4 separate regions of the Homo sapiens genome follow, and all the other regions are linked to region 3. The links are contacts of gene promoters, found by promoter capture Hi-C in human tissues and cell types (Jung and others, 2019). All regions are on one chromosome and are shown on one strand. The core of a region is centred on a gene start or on the middle of the fragment in contact, and the rest is flanking DNA. Distances in the headings are between cores, read along the strand shown. Region 1 has its middle 47 kb from the start of MIR548H4. Region 2 has its middle 23 kb from the start of MIR548H4. Region 3 holds the start of ADRA1A (adrenoceptor alpha 1A). Region 4 has its middle 29 kb from the start of MIR548H4.

The links. The method cuts DNA at HindIII sites, captures the fragments that hold promoters and counts their contacts. A contact is called where the count stands out against the background at its distance.
Region 1: a fragment that was not itself captured here is called in contact with the fragment with the promoter of ADRA1A in region 3 in 1 of the 25 tissues and cell types used here (stomach).
Region 2: a fragment that was not itself captured here is called in contact with the fragment with the promoter of ADRA1A in region 3 in 2 of the 25 tissues and cell types used here (dorsolateral prefrontal cortex and hippocampus).
Region 4: a fragment that was not itself captured here is called in contact with the fragment with the promoter of ADRA1A in region 3 in 5 of the 25 tissues and cell types used here (dorsolateral prefrontal cortex, heart left ventricle, hippocampus and 2 more).

Annotation. Positions count from the first base shown.
Region 1 is chr8:27,093,231-27,098,062 of GRCh38, forward strand. No RefSeq gene overlaps it. Among named protein-coding and RNA genes, the nearest start is that of MIR548H4, 47 kb to the left of the region's middle. The HindIII fragment of the contact is 7,720 bases long and covers 1-4,832 here.
Region 2 is chr8:27,023,212-27,028,572 of GRCh38, forward strand. No RefSeq gene overlaps it. Among named protein-coding and RNA genes, the nearest start is that of MIR548H4, 23 kb to the right of the region's middle. The HindIII fragment of the contact is 4,096 bases long and covers 686-4,781 here.
Region 3 is chr8:26,865,800-26,871,199 of GRCh38, forward strand. ADRA1A (adrenoceptor alpha 1A) reads right to left here and starts at 1,479. Exons shown (of 3, transcript NM_000680.4): 1 at 1,137-1,479. RefSeq lists an enhancer at 1-700. The HindIII fragment of the contact is 8,811 bases long and covers 1-5,400 here.
Region 4 is chr8:27,074,828-27,080,341 of GRCh38, forward strand. No RefSeq gene overlaps it. Among named protein-coding and RNA genes, the nearest start is that of MIR548H4, 29 kb to the left of the region's middle. The HindIII fragment of the contact is 6,468 bases long and covers 1-5,514 here.

The DNA.
Region 1 (4,832 bases), core at 1,174-3,673, 230 kb after region 3:
TCGCATAAGCCAAACTGTCTGAGACACAGCATTCTCATCTAATATCCTATTATGAAGGGTGTTGCAGGAATTAAAGAAGATAAAGAACTAAAAAGATCCTGAGAGGTGTACCTAGTTCATGATTAACTTGCTAACTGTGGTACTGTGCATGTTATCTGAGATGGAATTATTAGACACCAGCAATCTTATAGTCATAGAGTGGTCCCTCAGCGTAGATGAAAGCTAAGTACTACAGAATGATCAAAAGCCAATACTTCAAAAAGCTGATGTACTTGTGGGTTTTTTTCTGTATTTAGATGTATTTCTATCACCTTACTTTGGCTTTCCATTAGCCATGATTCACTAAGCTACAGCTTTCTCTTTTTTTCCTTCTATTTGGTTGATCCACATTTTTTTCATCAGATTTGAATGTTAGATGTTCTATTTCTATTCTTTAACTGGTTATCTAATTTTTCCCATGTACTTAACTTTTCAACATTTAATTTTAGTCTATATCTTTACCTTCCCGGTGAGCATAAGGATTTTAGAATACTTCCATTTCAATTCCCCCCTTTGCATTTATCCTCACCATTCTTCAGAACACTGTTATAAAATATTTCATGAATACTTGGTTTTATAATTCCAAAATATTTATTATCACTACTATCCTCATTATCACCATTATTACTGTCTTAGTGTAAATACTTCTTTTAATTTACTCACGTGTTTACTATTTCTTTGTTCAGCATCCCTTAATTCTCTTCTCCTAGATTTAATCTTCTTTCTAAAGCACATTTTGGAACTTTTTAAAGTGATTGTTTGTTAATAATAAATACTTAGCACTTCCTTGTCTAAAAGTATTTTTTATGTTGCAGATATTCTTTAGTGACATTCCAGCTGGGTACAGAATTCAAACTTGATTGTTATTGCCTATTAGTATTTTTAAAACATTATGTCAGGTTTTTTTCTATTTTTGTTGTTAATAGTTTTTGTTTATCAACAAAATAATCAACATTTTGTTGATAAATGTGCTGTAAATTTCCAGTGGAAGTTTAAGCTTTACAACTAATATGGACAACAACTTGACAATATATTTCAAAATTATAAGGTCATATACTCTTTACCAAGCCATTTCACTTCTAGGAATTCACAATATACATATACTCATAGAATGACCTTTGAAAATCATCATACTGCTTGAAACTTTCCAATACCTTCTTTCCTCATTCAAAGTAAAAGTCAAAGTGCTTGCACAATCCTACCACGCTCCATGAGGTTTATCACCTTGCTCTCCTCACTTCACCTCCTGTCACTCCCTTCCTTGCTCTCTTCTGTCCATCTTAGGGATTTTGCAGTTGTTTCTGTCTGCAAAGTACTCACCAATATATCTGCATGACTTATTCACTTTTCTTCTCAAGAATATTTTTTATAATCCTACATAAAATAGCTGGCATTACCACCAAAATTCTCTCACCCTCATCCTGCTTTATTTTTCTCAATAGAACTTACTGCTATTTGACATACGATATTTTACTTTTTATTTGTTGTTTATCTGTCTCATCAGTTAGAGTATCAGCTCCACGAGGGCAAGGGATTGGTTTTATTTATTTATTTTACTGTGTCCACACACAAGTGCCTAAAATTGTGCCTGACATATAAAAATAAATATGCATTGAATTAGTGAAATTATGTTCATGCCCGTAGGTAAAATTATGTTTGTGCAATGTTATTTTTTGCATAATTCTTTGTAGAACCAAAAAATTTTAGAAACAACCTGCATTGGTTAATTTTATGTATCAATTTGACTGGCCTATAGTGATACAGGAGCTAGAAAGGAGTTACTTAGGGAGATAATGAGGGTAAAGGAGTCCTGGGCAAGGCTTCCCTTTTAACAAAAAGCAGCCCCCAAATCATTTTTTCTTTTTTCTAACAAAGAGCAGCCTGAAAAATCGAGCTGCAAACATAGATATGCAAGCTGGAAACTTGCGTGGATGAATGCCAGCAGCTGTACCAATAGGAAAAGGCCACCTGAGGGCTGGGCATATCCAACATGGAAGCTCCATCATCCGTTTTCTTTGTCACCACAGGTACAGTAAAGAGGCAGGCAACATGGTGCCAGTCAGGCAGAGAACCCATCTGCATAATAAAAGATTAGAGTGGGCCAGGCACCGTGGCTCACAACTGTAATCCCCGCACTTTGGGAGGTCGAGGAGGCAGATCACGAGGTCAGGAGTTCGAGACCAGCCTGGCCATAGTGAAATCCCATCTCTACTAAAAATACAAAAAAATTAGACGGGTGTGGTGGCACGCGCCTGTAGTCCCAGCTACTTGGGAGGCTGAGGCAGGGAATCACTTGAACCTGGGAGGCGGGGGTTGCAGTGAGCAGAGATTACGCCACTGCACTCCAGCCTGGTGACAGAGTGAGAGTTGTCTCAAAAAAAAAAAATTAGGGTGGGGCAGCCAGCTTCTTCGTGCACTATGCAAACAGCACACCTAGTCCTAACCAGTTCTTTGAGCACTATTCAAATGGCACACCTGGTCCCACCAACCTTTCATGCCCTATGTAAATCAGACACTGCCTCCTCAACCTCATCTGTAAAACCTCCTGCACTTAACATCGGACCGGAGGACCCATTCAGGACCCCCATCTCTCTGCAGGAGAGAACTTTTCTCTTTCTTTCACCTGTTAAACCCCCATTCTCAACCTTATTCCTTATGTGTCCATGTCCTTGATTTCCTTGACACGGGACAATAAACCTTGAGTATTACTCCAGACGAACAACACCACTTCAACAGGACACCTAGGTACCTGGTAAAACCATATTTGTGAGTGTGTCCATCAGGATGTTTCTAGAAAATATCAGGATTTGCATTGGTGAACTGAGTAAAGCCGATGGTTCTCCCCAGTAAGGGTGTGCGTCATTCAACCTATTGAGGGTCTGCATAGAACAAGAAGGTGGAGAAAGGGCTAGCTCATTCTCTGTGCTTGAGCTGTGACATCCATGTTCTCCTGCCCTTGGACATCCATGTTCCTGATTCTCAGGCTTTTGAACTCAGACCTAGATTTACACTATTACTCTCTGACTCCCAGGCCTTTGGACTTGGGCAGAATTATACCACTGCCTTCTCTTGTTCTCCAGCTTGCAGGCAGAAGATTGTAGGAATTCTTGGCTTTCATAATCATGTGATCCAATTCCTATAACAAATCTCCTTTTATATATCTGTCTTGGTCTGTCTGGGCTCTTCTAATTAAATATCGTAGACTGGGTAACTTATAAATAACAAACATTTATTTCTCACTGTTCTGGAGGCTGGAAAGTCCAAGGTCAAGGCACTGGTAGATTGGTGTTTGATGAGGGCCTGCTTTGTCATAGACGGCACCTTCTTACTGTGTCCTCACATGGTGGAAGGGGCAAGGCTGCTCTCTGGGGCTATTTTATAAGGTTTATAAGGGCACTAATCTACTCATCCCATTCATGAGTACAGTCCTCATGACCTAATCACCCCACAAAGGCCGTATCTCCTAATACCTTTACACTGTGATCAGGTTTTTACATAGGAATTTGGGGAACACAAATATTTACACCATAGCTATAATTACACACACACATGCACCACACACACACACACACACACACATACACAACAATTCTCAGAGGTTCTCTGAGAATCTTAACAGATAATCATAGCAATCTAACTGTTCATCATAGCAATCTGGATAAACAATTATGCTGCATCCTATGTGACAGAATGCAGTGGAGTATCTCTTCATGTATTTAAATTAATTTAATTTTCTTCAAATTTTATTTTAAGTTCAGGGATACATGTGCAAGATGTGCAGGTTTGTTACCTAGGTAAACATGTGCCATGAGGCTTTGCTGCACAGATCATCATCTCCTCACCTAGGTATTAAGCCCAGCATCTATTAGCTGTTCTTCCTGAGGCTCTCCCTCCCCCCAGGCCCCCTCTCCAACAGGCCCCAGTATTGTTGTTCCTCCCATGTGTCCCTGTGTTCTCATCATTCAGCTCCCCCTTATAAGTGAGAACATGTGGTATTTGGTTTTCTGTTCCTGCATTAGTTTGCTGAGGATAATGGCTTCCAACTGCACCCATGTCCCTGCAAAGGATATTACCTCATTCCTTTGTATAGCTACATAGTATTTCATGGTGTATATGTACCACATTTTCTTTTTTTCTTTTCCTTGAGACAGAGTCTCACTCTGTCACCCAGGCTGAAGCACAGTGGCAAGATTTCTCGGCTCACTGCAGCCTCTGCCTCTTGGGTTCAAATTATCCTGCCTCAGCCTCCCAAGTAGCTGGGATTACAGGCTCATGACACCACATCCAGCTAATTTTCATATTTTTAGTAGAGATGGGGTTTCTCCATGTTAGCCAGGCTGATCTTGAACTCCTGACCTCAAGTGATCCACCTGCCTTGGCCTCCCAAAGTGCTGAGATTACAGGTATGAGCTACCATGCCCGGCCATGTACCACATTTTCTTTATCCAGTCTATCATTGATGGGCATTTAGGTTGATTCCATCTTCATGTATTTTAGATTCCCTTAAGTCGTTTTCTTATTTTTACGCTTCTATGCTGTCACCAGATAATATGCTCAGATCTCTCTTTTCATTTATTAATCATATCAGCTGTACCTAATATAATGTTTAACCCAATTATTCAATATTACATTCATATATTGCATTTTTCATTTTTATTTCTGGAAGTTCCATTTGGTCATTTTTCAAATCTTCTGGTCATTATTGCATAGTGCCTCAATCTTTACTCATATTTTTTATTTTTTAATTTCTGTGTTTATTCATTTTAAACATATTTGTTTTATTGTCATTTTCT
Region 2 (5,361 bases), core at 1,484-3,983, 160 kb after region 3:
TTTTTTTGAGACAGAGTTTTACTCAGTCTGTTGCTCCAGCTGGAGTGCAGTGGCATGAACTCGGCTCACTGCAACCTCTGCTTCCCAGGTCCAAGCGATTCTCCTGCCTCAGCCTCCAGAGTAGCTGGGACTACAGGCATGCACCACCACAGCTGACTAATTTTTGCATTTTTAGTAGAGACAGGGTTTCGCCATGTTGGCCAGGCTGGTCTCAAACTCATGACCTCAAGTGATCCACCTGCCTTGGCCTCCCAAAGTGCTGGGATTACAGGTGTGTGCCACTGTGCCCGGCCAACCCTTAATATTTTCTTGAGGTCATTATCCTCTCCCAAAACATGTGGCCAATCGTGTGCACTGTCCCCCACTAGCACATTGAGACAGTTGGGCCTACATGAGCCAGTTGGCACTTCCTACACCTGAAGTCTCAGGAAATGGCTCCAGAATTGTCATGTGACCCAAACAAGGCCTCGGGAGTTTTCGGCTGGAGCAACTGAGTAAGATTGCCCCTGGCATCTGCCATCTGAGTGCCGGAAGGAAGTGATGCCTTCCTGGCCATACGGAGGAAGCCCATCTGCAGAGGCAAGAAATGAGAACCCAGAACAGGGGTGCTAAGCCAAGTAAAAGAAGCAAAATACCTAGGCTACATGGAGTCGGATTCAGTTTGGACTCTGTCATCTGGTTTTTCTAGTTATGGGAATCAATGAATTCCCTTATTTTTGGATGAAACTGGTTTGAGTTTCTGCCTTAGCAGGTAACATCTGTCTAAGTGCCTCATAAACAATGAGGGACCATACAAATTTGAGATAGTGGTAACATCTGGGAAAAAGAATCATTTCTTCTAATATTAGTCATTCCAAAAGTCTTAGTCCAAGTTTCTCCATATAGTGTAGACCATAATTTAAACTCTACCTATATTACAGAATTATTTTATAAATAAATGAAAAATATATATGAAATCTAAAAAATGACAAAGATGAAAGTATTATTTTAATCATGGGCATATTTATTTTCTTTAGTTTTGCCCATCTTATTTGAGAGAAAATACTTTCATGTCTTTATCTATGCTACAGCCTCCTAATAGGTTCATTATGGTTTATAAATGTAAATTATAATTAGATTTCTATAAGGTCAACACCATTTAGAAGTATTAAGAAAGCAGCTGACTTGTATTACCTGTTTCTATTCATGTAAAATTCACCACAAGAAGAAAGATGATTGCTTTAGTAATTTTATTTTTCACTAAAAGCTGCCTAGTCCAAGCATTATCAATGGAGAAATGTCTCAGATAAATGGTACCTGCAGCTGTCACATCAAACCAGATGATAACAAAATCTCCATGTACACCAAGGTGTCTAAATGTTCAATGTTTCCAAAAACCACTTTCATTCCCAAAGTAGCTTTTACAGTGGCCCAAAACCACCACCCCACCTTTTTTTTTTTTTTTTTTTTGAGACAGGGTCTCACTCTCTCACCCAGGCTGGAGTGCAGTGGCATGACCTCGGCTCGCACAACCTTTGCCTCCTGGGCTCAAATGATACCCCTACTTCAGCCTTCCGAGTAGCCGGGACTACAGGCATGCACCCACACGCTTAGCTAATTTTTAAATTTTTTGTGGAGATAGGATCTTCTTGTATTGACCAGGATAGGCCCCGTATTTCTTAAAGAGCAGCACAAATAATGGGAAATGATTGTTAAATTCTTTAATTCCCCGCACTGTAAAATAATTGATGTGTACAAGAAGAATTTCTGTGAGTTGACTGAAGCAGGCAGAAAAATGATGTTTCCTTGTCTATCGTTTTGTTTTAACACCACTAGATACACTGGTTCTGCTTCACTCTCTTGCAAAAGATTTTTGCTTGAGTTATAACATCTTGCCGAAGAACACCATGAGATTTTAACGTAGCAGGAATTAATTAATCTTTAAACCTCTAAAATTAATTCCATCCTTCCTGAGGAAAGACAAATGGAAATGGTCAGGATTCCCACAACGAAGTACACAGGAATCCCAGCCTGAGCCTTGCCTCTGGCTTTATCTGTTTAATTGCTTGTTTGTTTGTCTCAATTCTGAGATTATATATTCTTAAACATAATCTCTTTAAAACCTTGAAACCATATTCCAGGGGAGAAAATAAGGTTTATGTCATCATGTTTGATGGAGAAAACCAGTTTCTGCATCTTTTCATCTCTGCTGTGGTTGGTCAAGGAGATGTGATTAGTCAATATCTTTGGCTTGCTGTATTCAGATTGAACAAAGCTTTTTCAGAACAACTGTTATGTGTCTAGCGCCTTGCTCTCACTTGTTTTATCTTAATTTTGACAACAACCTTATGAAGTGGTATTTTTAGTCATTTTAAGTGGAGGAACTTGAGGTTTAGAGCGATTTGTCCAAAGAGCCAGTACTGAGATTGCATCATTTGTTCAAGATTGCACAACTAAAAGGAGTCAGAATTTCAACTCAGGTCTTTCCAATCTATGCCGTGTGCCTTTTTGACCCTCCTCCCTCCGCTTGCTAAACATTGAATAATTGAAAGTATCATGGATGATACATCTAATTTTGATATTTGATGAATCTCAAAAACATTATGCTAAGCAAAAGACGCCAGACACACAGAAGAGTATATACTGTCTAAAGCCATGTATATGAAATCCAAATACAGACAAAATTAAGCCATGTAGATGGAACATAGGCAGTGGTTGACATCTGCACAATGAATGCTCCACAGTGTAGGGATTCGACTGAAAGAAACACCAGGGAACTTTTTATGGGGGTGGAAGTGTTCTATATCTTGTTACTTGGATATACACAATTGTCAATACTCTTTGAATAACTGAACATCTAAAACCTGTACTTTTCATTGTGTGTTAATCACATCTCAATTTTTTTTTTTTTTTTTGAGACAGTCTTGCTCTGTCACCCAGGCTGGAGTGCAGTGGCACAATCTCGGCTCACTGCAACCTCTACCTGCCGGGTTCAAGTGATTCTCCTGCCTCAGCCTCCCGAGTATCTGGGATCACAGGCACGCACCACCATACCCAACTAATTTTTTTGTATTTTTAGTAAAGACGGGGTTTCACCATGTTGGTCAGGCTAGGTTCAAACTCCTGACCTTGTGATCCTCCTGTCTCGGCCTCCCAAAGTTCTGGGATTACAGGCGTGAGCCACCGCGCCTGGCCACATCTCAATTTTTTAAGATTCTATTTAAATGACCTAAAATGCAGTTTCAGGTAACTCTGCTTCTCTGGTAGTCTTCAAAGTTGATATATCGAAATTTCTACTTTGAAACAGAAAACAAAAATAATATTTTAATGTCAACAGTGTCTTTGACACAAACTTGGCCATAGTTACTGACTTAGGTTTAGTGAGAAGATTCAAGAGAAATCTGGGCTATGAGGCACAATCGCCAGGAATTCTTACTTTTATCAAGAATCTATGTTTAAGTAATAATTGTATTAATGTTAATAAGCATTAACTGAACATTTCTAAGCACCAGACATGGAGTTAAATGCTTCACTGCCTCTTCTCACTTCATCCACACATCAATTTAATGAGGCAGGTAACATTATAATCATTACCCTCTGAAAGATAAACTCTCCAAGACTTAGAGAAGTCAGATGGCACATCCAAGATCTCAGAAGTAGGTGTTGGGCTAGAAATTTGCTGAAGAGAATCTGAATCTTAGCTCTAGTCTTACACTACTTAATATTGCTTTCAATGACAGCACTAATGAAAAAATTCAAGGGAATCAAGAAAAATGTTGAATGGTTAGCATTAACTTTTGCTTTTTTCCAGTCTTGTATTTTCTAGGTATTCCGTATGAAGTATGGGTTTCTTTTTTAGGTAATAAACTATAGTCTAAAATGATAGTTAATAGAATGTAAGTATGGGCTTGAACCTCAAAATACTTTGGAAGTTAAAAAAATAACTCTTATATAGACAATGTAAATATTCTGTTTCAGTGTAGTGGACTAAAACTACATGTTGCATTTCTCTGTGGCATCAGAAAGCTTATTATAAATACATAGCACAAATGTATTATTTTTCTGGCTTGAAGAAAAATATCCAATGGCACCCCTATCTCGTAAAATTTAGAACTGAAGGATGAAGCCATATTATGATGACCCTGCCTGTGTGACATTTTCACCTTAGGACTGATGTCTTGTGTTTGAAACGTGATTAAATCTGATCATCAGGTGTGATGATAGCTTGCAATGTTCTAAGGAATGATCCTCACAGAGGAAATTGATAATTCTACAATGCAAACCTTTACTTTATACTAATGGGTTAAGATGAAATACTGGGAGGTTTCTTCAGCACTTACTATGCTCAGAATTTAGGCAAGGGAGAAAGTAAGTCAGGCATCTATAGCCGATGTCAATTCCAGCTACTGTGGCCCCTGACGTGATGGTTTTCAGCGAAAGTGTAAAGTTATTCTCTAGATTTACAAATCTACAAATTATCAAAGTGGTACACATTTTAAAACTAAATCACAGCCACCAGCCCACATTGTTCTTCCCTTTTTTTGCATCCACCTGTCCATTGAATTCTCACTTTCAAGTCAATGTAATCCACTCAAGTTTTGGGAATCATGAACCTGACGAAAATACATGACAAAAATACAAAAGTATTTTGAAAGTATAGAAATGCAACATTTCTGATTCTTGCCATTCTAGTAATTTTCAATTCTTATCCAAATTATTCTACCTTGGCCTTCATCTGGTATGCCAACACTCATTTAGAAAACCACCAATAGTCTTCGGTTATTTACTCTTCTTTACTTCCTGTATACAGTAGATTTCTTTGTGCCTCCTGGATGCGTTCTTTTTTGCTGGAATATTTCATCCAAGAGTGATTTCAAAGAGATTCCGTGTGTTCATCCTTCTGAGGCAATTGTATACTTGAGAATGTTTTTATTGCACTTAAACAAAAGCTCAACTGGATGAAAATATTCTAGGTTCAAATTTACTTTTTCCATCAGCATGTTGAAAAATATTAGCCTAGTGTCATCCAATATCATTGGTGAAAAGTCTAACATCAATTTGATTTTTGTTTCTTTTTCTCAGGAAGCTCTTCTTTTACTTTGATGGTCTTAAATTTAGCAAAGTGTGGGTTTTTCTTATCTATTCTCTTACTTTCACATTCCATGATCTTTCTTTTATAATAAAAAATTCTCAATCATTATTTCTTTAAATATTTTCTCCCCTTTATTCATTTATTTATTTATCTATCTATTCATTTGTTTATTTAAGACAGGGTCTCACTCTGTCACCCAGGCTGGAGTACAGTGGCATGATCATGGCTCAACTGCGGCCTTGAGCTCCTAGGCTTAAGCGATTCTCCCACCTCAGCCTCTCAGGTAGCTG
Region 3 (5,400 bases), core at 229-2,728:
GCGACTTCGGAGCTCATCTCGCGCCCCCACCACTGGGAACCTGCCTAGCGCACTCTACTGAGTCACCTCTGCCCGAGTTCAGGATCCGAAGCGAAAAACAAACAAAAAAACAAATCCCCAAAACCCCAGGCTCCAGCGCTCGAAGTCTGGATTTCGAGCGCAGGTACCACGAAATTAAAATCCTCGAAGCCCCGGAGGGGCGACTGCGGCTGGCGAGTGTGTCGCACGGATCCTAGCCGGGGAATTCTGGAGGATGTACTCGGTTTCCGTTAGAACAGGTTGCCTCGCAGTCACCTGGAGGGGGCGGCCTGGGAGAGGGAACAGCTGCGACCCAGGGACCTCAGGGCCAGGACCACGAGCACGCTCACTCTCACGCCGGTGGAATTCGCACTCGGGTGTGCAGAGCGCACCGGTCTGTCCACCAGCCAAGCTGGCTTGAGAGCCAGGTCCCGAGCGAAGCCGGGAGGGACCCGAAGACAGAAAGCGACCCAGGTCTGTCCACGACGCCTTTCCAAGCCTCACTGTTGGCCACCCGAGGGGCTCCAGCTGCCAGCCGTAGCGGGACTGGCGGGGGACGGGGTGGGGAGGACGTCCCTCTGCAGAGGGAGCTTTGCAAGTGACAGTCACTGCGGATTTTGCAGGCGTAAACATTAAGCCGGCATGCCAGCGGGCAGGGGCCGCCTTCGATTTTCTGGGCTGGGGGCCACCATCTGCGTAAGAAACCTGGGTTTCCACAACTGCGAACCTACCGCAGGGACTCGGCAGGACAGCGCGGCGTGAGGAAGTGCCCACCTTGCCTTCTGGGGTTGGGCCCTGAGGTGGGACCTCGGGCAAAGACTCTTGTTAAAATCGCAAGTTGGAGACCTCACAGGTGGTATTAAAAACGTGCCACTGCAGAAACCCTTTTCCTCCTACCTCGAGGGTGATAAACACAGGGTTAAAAAGACACTTGTTCAGTAGAAGGCAACTTCGCAGAAGATGTAAGGGAATCGGGGGTGGGGTAGAGGGGCCGGTATAAAACCTGGTGGAAAAAGCGGGAGGCGCTGGGAAAAGTGGGGGTTCCGTCTCACCAGACGGCGGGGGAGGTCTGCCCTCACCCACTCGGCCCTGCGGGACGCCGGCCCCGGCGCACTCACCTGAAGCGCCGCTGCTGAGCCACCAGCTCGCGCGCGGGGGATGTGGACCCGGCTTCGGTCCCGGGAGCTGCCTGCCTGCTCTTCTCTGGAGGCGGAGAGGGGACCGTGTCTCCGAGGCACCAAATCCTTGTCCTTTTGCACCCGCTGACTCACCCCTCCACCACTGATGTCTTTAAGCTCCTGAACCGCTGTCACTTTACCTGCATTTTTTAAAAAGAGTCAAAATAAGAAAAGAAAAAAAAATGCAGATAACCGGTAACTCCACAATCACCCTTTTAATATTCAGCTCCCCGACACCAGAAAAGAATAGCAAGGAACTTTGCAGCTCTCGCTGACGTAACTCAGGCAGTAGCCCAGCTAGTACCGTAATCTCCTGCTGCTACCGTATTACTCTACGGCAACAGGCACAAGTGCGTATACAGCTGTAATGTTTTCCTCTGGCCTAGAGGGGGTTGGGTTCTAGCGTTTCTTTAAAAAGGTTTGTGTGTGTGTGTGTGTGTGTGTGCGCGCGCGCGCGCGCGTGTGTGTGTGTAGAGTCATTTGTAGTAAATAACTTCTTTAAATGAGCTTTTAAAAATAACGAAAAATTGACACCCTTGCTAGATATTGCTGTGTGTATGGTGTGTTCATAGGAATGTGCTATAAAGTAACTTTGAACAGCTTGATTTGATTAACATTTGGCCTAGGTTTTGTTAAGATCAAGAAGTATATTAAGAATATTGTAATTCTAAATATGCAAGTAAATTATAAGGTGTTTTAAATAGCAAGTAAAATCAGATAAAATATGACAAATCTGATTGTAATGAAATTATATTTTCAGGAAGATAAAGTGGACATATCTAAACCTTATTTAATATGATTCACTTCTAATTTCTTTAGACAGATGAATTTTAAGAGCATTATGGCCACAGAGTTTGGTATTTTTTAAATGCCACACAATCTTTTCCAGTTTTCTTGAGAAAATGGTATCCTTTCAGGAGTGTTACTCTCTTTAATTCATTAATAGCTGGAGTATGAAAACCTAGCACCACCAGTCTTATTACTTTTTTTCTGGTAAATTACATAATCTGTTTACCTTGTGATTGAATAAAGTCACATGTGTTTCAGAATATCGGGAACATAGAAAAATGTTTCCCACTCCAATTCCCACCTCCTAAGTCATCTTTCATCTTTATTGATGCAGACAAAGTGGAATGTTCTTATTTACTAGGTCTCCTTAAACCTAGGAACAAGGAGATAACTTTAAGCAGTGGCACTTAAATTCTCTCCTGTGAACAAAATCATATTAATATGATTACCTTTTCTAAGTGAGATAATGTTTGGGAGGCTCTTTTATAGCAATAAATCTCAAAATGCCTCAGAGGAATGCCCATGAGAGGGTCAGTAAATCCTATGTCATGGAAGACCTAATATATGTATTTATTTCTCTATTGTATACAAAGTCCTCCACCTCTGCCTCATACCTGTAGGGATAGAACTCACACCTAACACATTTGATTTGAATTTAATATATTTTTAAAACTGAATTTCGTGCCATAGGAGGAGCATCCTGGTTGAACAGACAGCTCCACTTCTCATTACTAAGTCACCTGCTCTCTCTGGGATTCAGTCCCCTTAGGAGGAAGCTTGACCTCAATTCCCTGCACTTCTAGTACTTTATCATCAAATATGTGTATAATGTCTGTGCTTCCGAAATCCCATCCATCAGAGGGATATACACTGTTTTGTTTTGTATTCATTAACCTGATGCTGTGAATGCAAATTCTTCATTAAGATGTGTTCCATGGTAGATAAGGGAAGCAGTGCTATCAGCAAGCAAAGCAACTGAAAATTGCTCAGCTCTGCAAGGTCGAAAATTGCAAAAGTCTTTGTAACTCCCAGTCCCCACTCTACAACAATTAAGAATACACATAATCCACCCCTGCACCCACCTCCAATAATTAACTAGTTAATACTAAGATAAGGAAGAGCAGCTCTTCATGCTGCTAGCAGGTAGGTCTTTCAAATCTGCTTCTCAGCCTGTGACCATCAATCCTTGCAAAACGACCTCTCAGAACCAATTTTTCAGTCACCTACCATTGATTCACAAACAGAAAACTATCCATCTGTTGGTTACTCTTTAAAGAATAGTTGACGTGGACATCCCAGAAAGTGTCTGAGTTGTACACATGGGTAGGTGGAGTGGAGAGGAGTATGCTCTGGGGTCATAAAGATGCTATTCTGACCCTCCTATGCGACCATGGCAAAGCCTTGGTTTCCTAATTTTTAAAGGGAGACAATGAACCCCCACAAGGTTGTTATTAGTGTTGAAAGAAATTACGTTTCTCAAAAACTCAGCTCATAATATTCACTAACTCTATTATTAATCTTATTAACTCCCTTTCTGCTCATTTTGTATGCTACTTTATAGTGAAATATATTTCTAACCCAGGTAGTCCATGAACACTGGTAAATTCAGCTGGAGAATGTGCTAAGTGTCTTGAGCACTACACTTGAGCTAAGTGGTTTAATCAGAATGACCCAACATGGTTAAGTTGCAAGAGCTGGCCCTGATCACTGGCTGCTTCTTTTCTTCTCACTTTCCCCCTTGTTCTTTGTCTTGAGGGGCCATGCAAATGTGTGTGAACACCTCAGCCCCTACAGCCAGAAAGCTGCCTTCTTGGCCTCAGGCCTTGGGGTACACACATTTGTGATGTTGTCTGCCCAGAGAGAATGGACCTGAAAGTGATTGTGTGGCCATCTGGGGCAAGGGATTCTGAGTCCCAGGGCATGGTCTAGAAAGGAGGGCACAGGCTCCAGGTGGGCATATCACATTAGTCCTATGGCCAAAAGGAGTCAGAGCTGGACTCTCTAAAGCCTGAAACCCTAGCCGGGGTCCCTCTTGCCTGGCTCTGAGGGTGATACTCTGAAGACTTCCGGTGTGACAGAAATTGAAGAATCCCCTGAAGGGGTGGTTGTGGAAAGACTCATAAAATGATATTGCTTGATGTAGGATTTGTGGAATCAGCAGGATTGAGATTTGTAGACAAAAGTGAGGAAGGTGAACCATCAGCAGCCGCATTTTAGAGTGGTGTGTCAGGGATGCTGGGGGAATGAGTCTGATTGGAGAAGAGCTGAGCAATGGACATAAACCCATGCATTGATTGGCAGGACTTTCTTAGTGACTAGTGAGGAACTCGGCAAGTGTGGTAGGCTTAGAGGTTTAAAAAAATAAAGAATCTGTCTATCATTCCCTTAGAAAACAATACACAATGGAATTAGGAGCTGTGTTCTGGAATTTATGATTGCAAATGACAGAGTAGAAGACTTAATGTTAGTATCTACCCCAAAGACTTGGCTTTTCAACTAATTCTCCTAAGGCTTAATAAGTTAAAGAGGCAAGAAAATGAAAAACAATTCTCAGAAAGGTATTGATGCAGTATCAAGTCACAGCTCTCCAAAGAAGCATTGTGTTCTAATCCTTTATCGAACTGAGAACACTGCACAGCCCACAGATACTGCTGAGGGATGTCTTTGATGAGATAGTAATTCTGTCTTTGCCATCATTTTTCCAAATCTTCATTGCCCTGAGAAAATAACATACTCCAAGTCTTGGGAGTCATACCACCCCATCCCTACACTGTGGGACTATCATGGTAGGAATATGAGGTCAAGTCAGCCTATAGCTGATCAGCAAATAATTCCTTTAAAACAATAAGACTTTGCTCTCGCATAGCAAATCTAAGCTGAGGCATATTAATCAAATTTTTTCAATATCTTTGTCAATATCATCTGGAAATGGAAGTAAAAGAAAGTCAATATGTGTACCAAGTGCAGACACATTTTTATCTCATCTCTTCACTTGCTGATGGGCTGTTATAGGCACTTTAAAATGCTTATTGACTTGTATTTAATTATAAAATTTATGCTCATAATAGCACATTTGGAAAAGTCAGACAGAAATGTATGAAAATAAAAATTATCTGTAATCCTGCCACTGGAGAAATAGCTATTGTTAAATATTTGTCATATTTTCTCATTTTTTGTTAATGTGTATAAATTATATACATGGAAAAATATATATACACATGTACATACCAGGAAATATTTTATGTACATGTATTTATTATGCATACATATATATTTCACATATTATACATTGTATACATTATATAAAAGAGTGTAATCATACTGTACCTATAATTATATATCTTACTTTTTCACTTATATTATATCATGAACTCATTCTATTATTACATTTATACCAAAACATGGTTTATAAGAG
Region 4 (5,514 bases), core at 1,816-4,315, 210 kb after region 3:
ATCACCAGAAACCACTTTCTTCTTGAGCAAGTCCTCTACTAAGGGTTCATTTATTCCATGTTCAGTACCGTGATTTCAAGGCCCGGAATGTAAAGCCAATCACAGGATTTTCATCAAAAGTTTACTTCTGGACACCAGCCGTCAATGTTCAAGGTCTAGAATTCTACCACCTTTTGAATTTGGGGTGGTGCCCAACACTGATTCTGGGCACAAAATTGATACAAATTGTCCAGGCTAAGAGTTCTTTCAAGGACCCCTAAGAGTTGCCATGGGAGCTGGAGGGCTCTGGGAATCAGGATGGAGAGGGCACCGCCACGCACCCTTCCACCCGCACCCCAGCCAGAACACAAGCGGTTAATCGGCTGCTGGCCAAGCCAGCCTTTTTCTTTAGCTAGTGTTTTGGTTTCCTAGGGGCTCTCTGAGCAACTTCCTCATTGGCACTGGTTCTCTGAGGAGGCTAATAACATCACTTACAAGTCTAAGCCACAGCCGCTGAGCACTGGTCCCTTCCCATGTACGACTGGTGACTTGACGACAAGTATTTGGCAGGGTCTGGGCCCAGTGGAGCCGAGTGGACTCCATGTCGGCTCCTTGGCTGTTGCTATTTCAGGGGCTTTCCACAGAACTTTTCCCTACTGTTGAATATGCAGAGCAAAGGGGAGAGACGCAGATGAGATAGGAAATAAGCCAGGAACCCCAGCAACATGGAAGGGAGTATTTCATGAAGGACACATGCCATGAATGTTTCTGAATCATTCTGGAAATCATAGGACTGTGAACAAGAAAAGACCTGAGAGATCTCATACTGACTCCCTTGTAGGGATCAGAGACACTGCCTGTTACATTTAAGATCTCGCAACCAGTTAGCAGCACTGCTGAGCTGGAACGCTGAATTTCTGGCTCCAGGGAAGCCTCCTTTCTGTTCTCTTTGCTGGATGAAAAGCTTAAATGCTGTCCTCTATCTGCCCAAAGTGAGACAGCATTCTAGAAATGCACACCTTTTAAAAATCAACATGACAAATATGAAAACATGGCACTGTTATAGTTTCAGTTTTTCTCATATTAAGATAAGGCTGGCTAGTGTGGTGGCTCATGCTTGTAATTCCAGCACTTTGGGAGGTGGAGACCAGAGGATCTCTTGAGGCGAAGGGGGTTTGAGACCAGCCTGGGCAACAAAGCGAGAACCTGCATCTACAAAGGAGAATTTAAGTTGGGTGTGATGGTGTGCACCTATAGTCCCAGCTACTTGGGAGGCTGAGGTGGGAGAATCACTTGAGCCAAGGAATTCAAGGTTACAGTGAGCTATGATCACTGCACTCCAGCCTGGGTGACAGAGCAAGACCCTGTCTCTGAAAATTAAAAAAAGTAAAAATATTTTTAAAAGATAAAGCTGTCCTTGCAATGATAACAAAAGAAGAAAGGTCAAATACCATCCTCGAGATGGCCCTTGTATAGTAACTCTAAATCTTCCAAATTCTCCTGGGTGCCATCCACAGGGTGCCTGAGAAAAATTATCAACTGCAAGAAAAATGCCTCCCTATTGAATTTCTCTTACTGACTATTTTTCTAAACTGGGTGCCACACAGTCCTTCTTAGGAAAGTTAATGCTACCTTGCTTCTCTTTCAGCTGTGTAATTCTCCCTTTTAAAATGCAAAGAAAAAAAAAAAGAGCGTGGTGTGTGTGTTATGTTCCTGATGTTAGAACTAGAAGACCTCTGATTTCATTGCCCAGTGTTATTTACAATGTGTGCCTTCTTTTCTCAGGAACTTTTAAGAATATGGTAGATTTGGGGCTTTGATAATAGGGCCAAAGGCAGGAAGGTTTCCATAGAGTCGTTTTTTCTATTCTTTAAGGTACCGAAAAAAGTTCAAAGAGGTAGGATTGCCAGATTTAGCAAGTAAAAATAAAGAATATGCAGTTAAATTTAATTTTCATTAAACAATGAATATTTTTAGTATATGTATGTCCTATGCAATATTTGGTACATGCTTATAGTAAGAAAATATTCGTTGTTTATCTGAAATTAAAATGTAATTGAGGGTCCTGAATTTTATCTGGCAACCCGAGAGGGAGGGAGAGAAGAAGGAAGAGAGAAAGAGAGAGGAGACAGACAGAGAGAGAGAGAGAGAAGGAAGAACAAGGATGGGGAGAAGGAGGAGGAAGAAGAATAAACATCAATGATAATAGTATCCTTCAGAGAGAAAAACCAGCATCAAATTACAAGATCAGTTCCCAGTATTGTGGCTTGTCCCCTTGACAAAGACGCAGAAGAGAACTTTTATCCACCAAAGTGGTGCTCAGGTAATGCATGATTAAGAAACCAAACAAAACAAAAAACAAAAAAACCCCACAGATCCTACTTGACACTTTGTTCCATTAATTCATTCAAAACCACTTCTGTATTACCTGGCAGGGCATTGCGGGGGTAGGTGGTGAGGAATTACTTTTCAAAGATAATTAATTTTCTACTCTTCAAAAGCTCACCAATCCTAAGTGCCATGAGAAAAATAAAAGCAACCTGACATAGAGCTAGGACACAAGGAAGACACACCTCGTTAGAGGGAATGGGAATGTTTATGTAGAAGACACATCTGCCATCCACCTTGAAAGATTGTGCTGCATCTGAGCCGTTGTCATACGAGGTCGTTTCTGATCTTTCTAAAATGTTGGCTTCATAGTGGGGCTGCTCGGGGGCAGGGGATCCTCCCATCAGGAGCAGCTAGCGAGAGGCAGAAGAGCCCATGGGTAGAGCAGGTTACCAGCCAGTGGCCATCCCGGATGAGAAGGTGGGAGGGCATGATCAGGTCATGTCACCTGGTATTTGAGGACAACCCTGAACGTTAACTCTGCTTGCATCAGCTTGTATCGCTCCAGAAACAGTATTCCTTAAATGCACCTTTTCCACAAGTCATATTATTTGCCTATATTAATAGTCCATGACTTGGCCATTTTCACATGAACACACATAGTAACTGTTCAAGATTAAAGGCAAGAGGAAAATCACTAATTAATCACAGTATCTGGGTAGTGGTTTAAATTTTCTTTTCCAGGAATAACACCCCCCCCCCATTTTATTTAATATGTAATAAGTATTATACATGTGTTAAATATTATAATATTCTTGTATGTAATAAATAACATATATAGCCAATTTATATATACTATACACAGTGAATAATGTAGTAAATATATATTGTAAAAATGTTGACTATATTATATACTATAATATTTTATTATACACTATAGTATTCAATAGTCTTTATACATAGTAAATAAAATTAGAAAATTTGCTTCCTGCAATAATATATTATATGAAACATTATTAAGTATAATATATATATAAACACACACATCAGTAAAATTGATACAATCAGAGCTGACTTCTATAAATAAGGTAATATTATCTCTCCAAGTTCATCAGCCTCGTTCTCGTAAATAGAGCACATTTTTGCTGAGAATATCTGGTAAATTTCAAATATGGAAGAAATCAGAAGTCTCATGTAAAACTGCATAAGAATAATTTCTGGTTCTTCTGTCTTTCCTTTTTAAAGAAAACCAGATCTTTATTATGGCTCACAAAGCCAGCCATTCCCAGGCCTTCAATGATATAATGAAATCAAGAATTTGACATCTTGTTCATATAAAGACCCCAAAATACCAAAAAGGTCTCATATTTCCAGAGGCTAGATTTAAAAATGAATCCTTCTCCAGAAATATATAGTATCATAACAATTTTAGGCCAGAAACACAAAATACATGCTAAAAATGAAAAACACAGTAATCAATTCTTAATAATATACTGAGGGGAAAAAAGGCAATTATCAGATGTTACACACTTCGAGGAAAAAACAAATGGGAAAGGGTCCAAGGACTGGTTTATGCTTTAACTCTCTATAGATTTTAGGCATAGATGGAAGAAATTGAAGCTTTTATGAAAACGGCCACAGTCAACAGAAAAACTTGCACAATGCTTATTTATTTGTGTAACCCAAACGGCCCCGGACATCAGCAGGCTTCAAGTGCATGCAAGTAAGGACATGCAACATGAATGTCCAAATGGAATCAGCTCCAAGCCTTCCCCAACCAAGGCAGGGCTTCACCCCCTGGCATCTTCAGGGAGACGCCCCGCTAGTGTTCCCATATGACTGGTTCAGCTCCACTGGTGCCCGCCTTAGCCCTGTTGCATGCCTGCTGATATCTCCTACCGACAGCGCTGCCTTGGAGAACCTCCGCACTGTACCGTTTGGAACAGGCATTTGGAAAGTCTGGTAATGATGTCCAACAGCACCACCTCCCCATGCTCAGAGCTGCTGATCTTTGAAGTGCCCCCAGTGGCTCCGGAGCAGAAATGAAAGAGTTGGCCAGGAGGAGACAGGCAGCATATGTGGACTTTGAAGCCAGGAGTGTCACCAGCTCTGCTCTGCTCGCTTGCCGACCCCAAAGTAGACTTCTCTCCCCAGCCCTCAGAGTGGGCAACATCCCCTGCCCCACCTCCACCTTCTTCACCCTCCGAACACTCTGCTCTTTTCCTTTGTAAAAATGATTTGATGCCTAATTAATGATACAAACTTTACAGCATCCGTATCTTAATTAGGCCTCTTCCCTAACACCTAGCACAATGCATGGGAGAAATTAGGTGTCTAATGAATGTTTAGAGAACAAATGAATGAATATTTTTCCTGGAGATAAGTCCCTAAATTTTTACAGCTAAATGCTTTCTCATAACAACAATTGTAAACTCATTCTTTCTATGTGTTGGCACTTCTCCCAGTCATTTATATGTTTACTCACATATTCCTCACTAAACTCCTATGGAACAGATACTTTCATTTTCTCCATGTTTACAGAGGAGGGAAATGAGGAACAGAGAGGTTAAGAAACTTGCCCATAGTCATCCAAGTAGTGAGTTGCAGACCTGCGATTCTGAACCCCAACAATCTCATTTCTGAATTGGTGCTCTTAACTTCCTATTAAATCCCATCTTTTGGAGAAGTCCGAGAGGTCAGGTGGAGAATATCAGCCTCTTCTTCTCCATCCTCTCTCTGCTTCAAGTAACTTCACCGGAAAGTAAATCATACAAAGAGAAACTCAATGACAATAATAATAACTCCATGTCTTCCTTTCTTCCTCCTTCTCCATCTTCCTTCTTTCCTTCTTTCTCCTTTCTTCCTCCCCTCCTTTCTCTCTTTTCCCCTCCCTCCCTCCCTCCCTCCCTCCCTTCCTTCCTTACTTCCTTCCCTCCTTCCTTCCTTCTTTCCAGTTTTATACCACAGTCCTACCCATCATGCCTGGCCCACCCCAGGAACCAGAACTACAAAAGTGAATGCAAATTTGTCCCTGCCATGGAATCATAGTCTGGTGGGAAGAGCAGAGGTGCAGCAGCATTAAAAATTTAACCTGGATAAACAAGGCCCAATGGAAGCATCTGGCAAACCCCAATGCAGATAATGCTGGCAGGAAAGAGCCAGAGGCCAGCAGAAAACTGACTGAGTTCATCAGCAAATTAGGAAAAC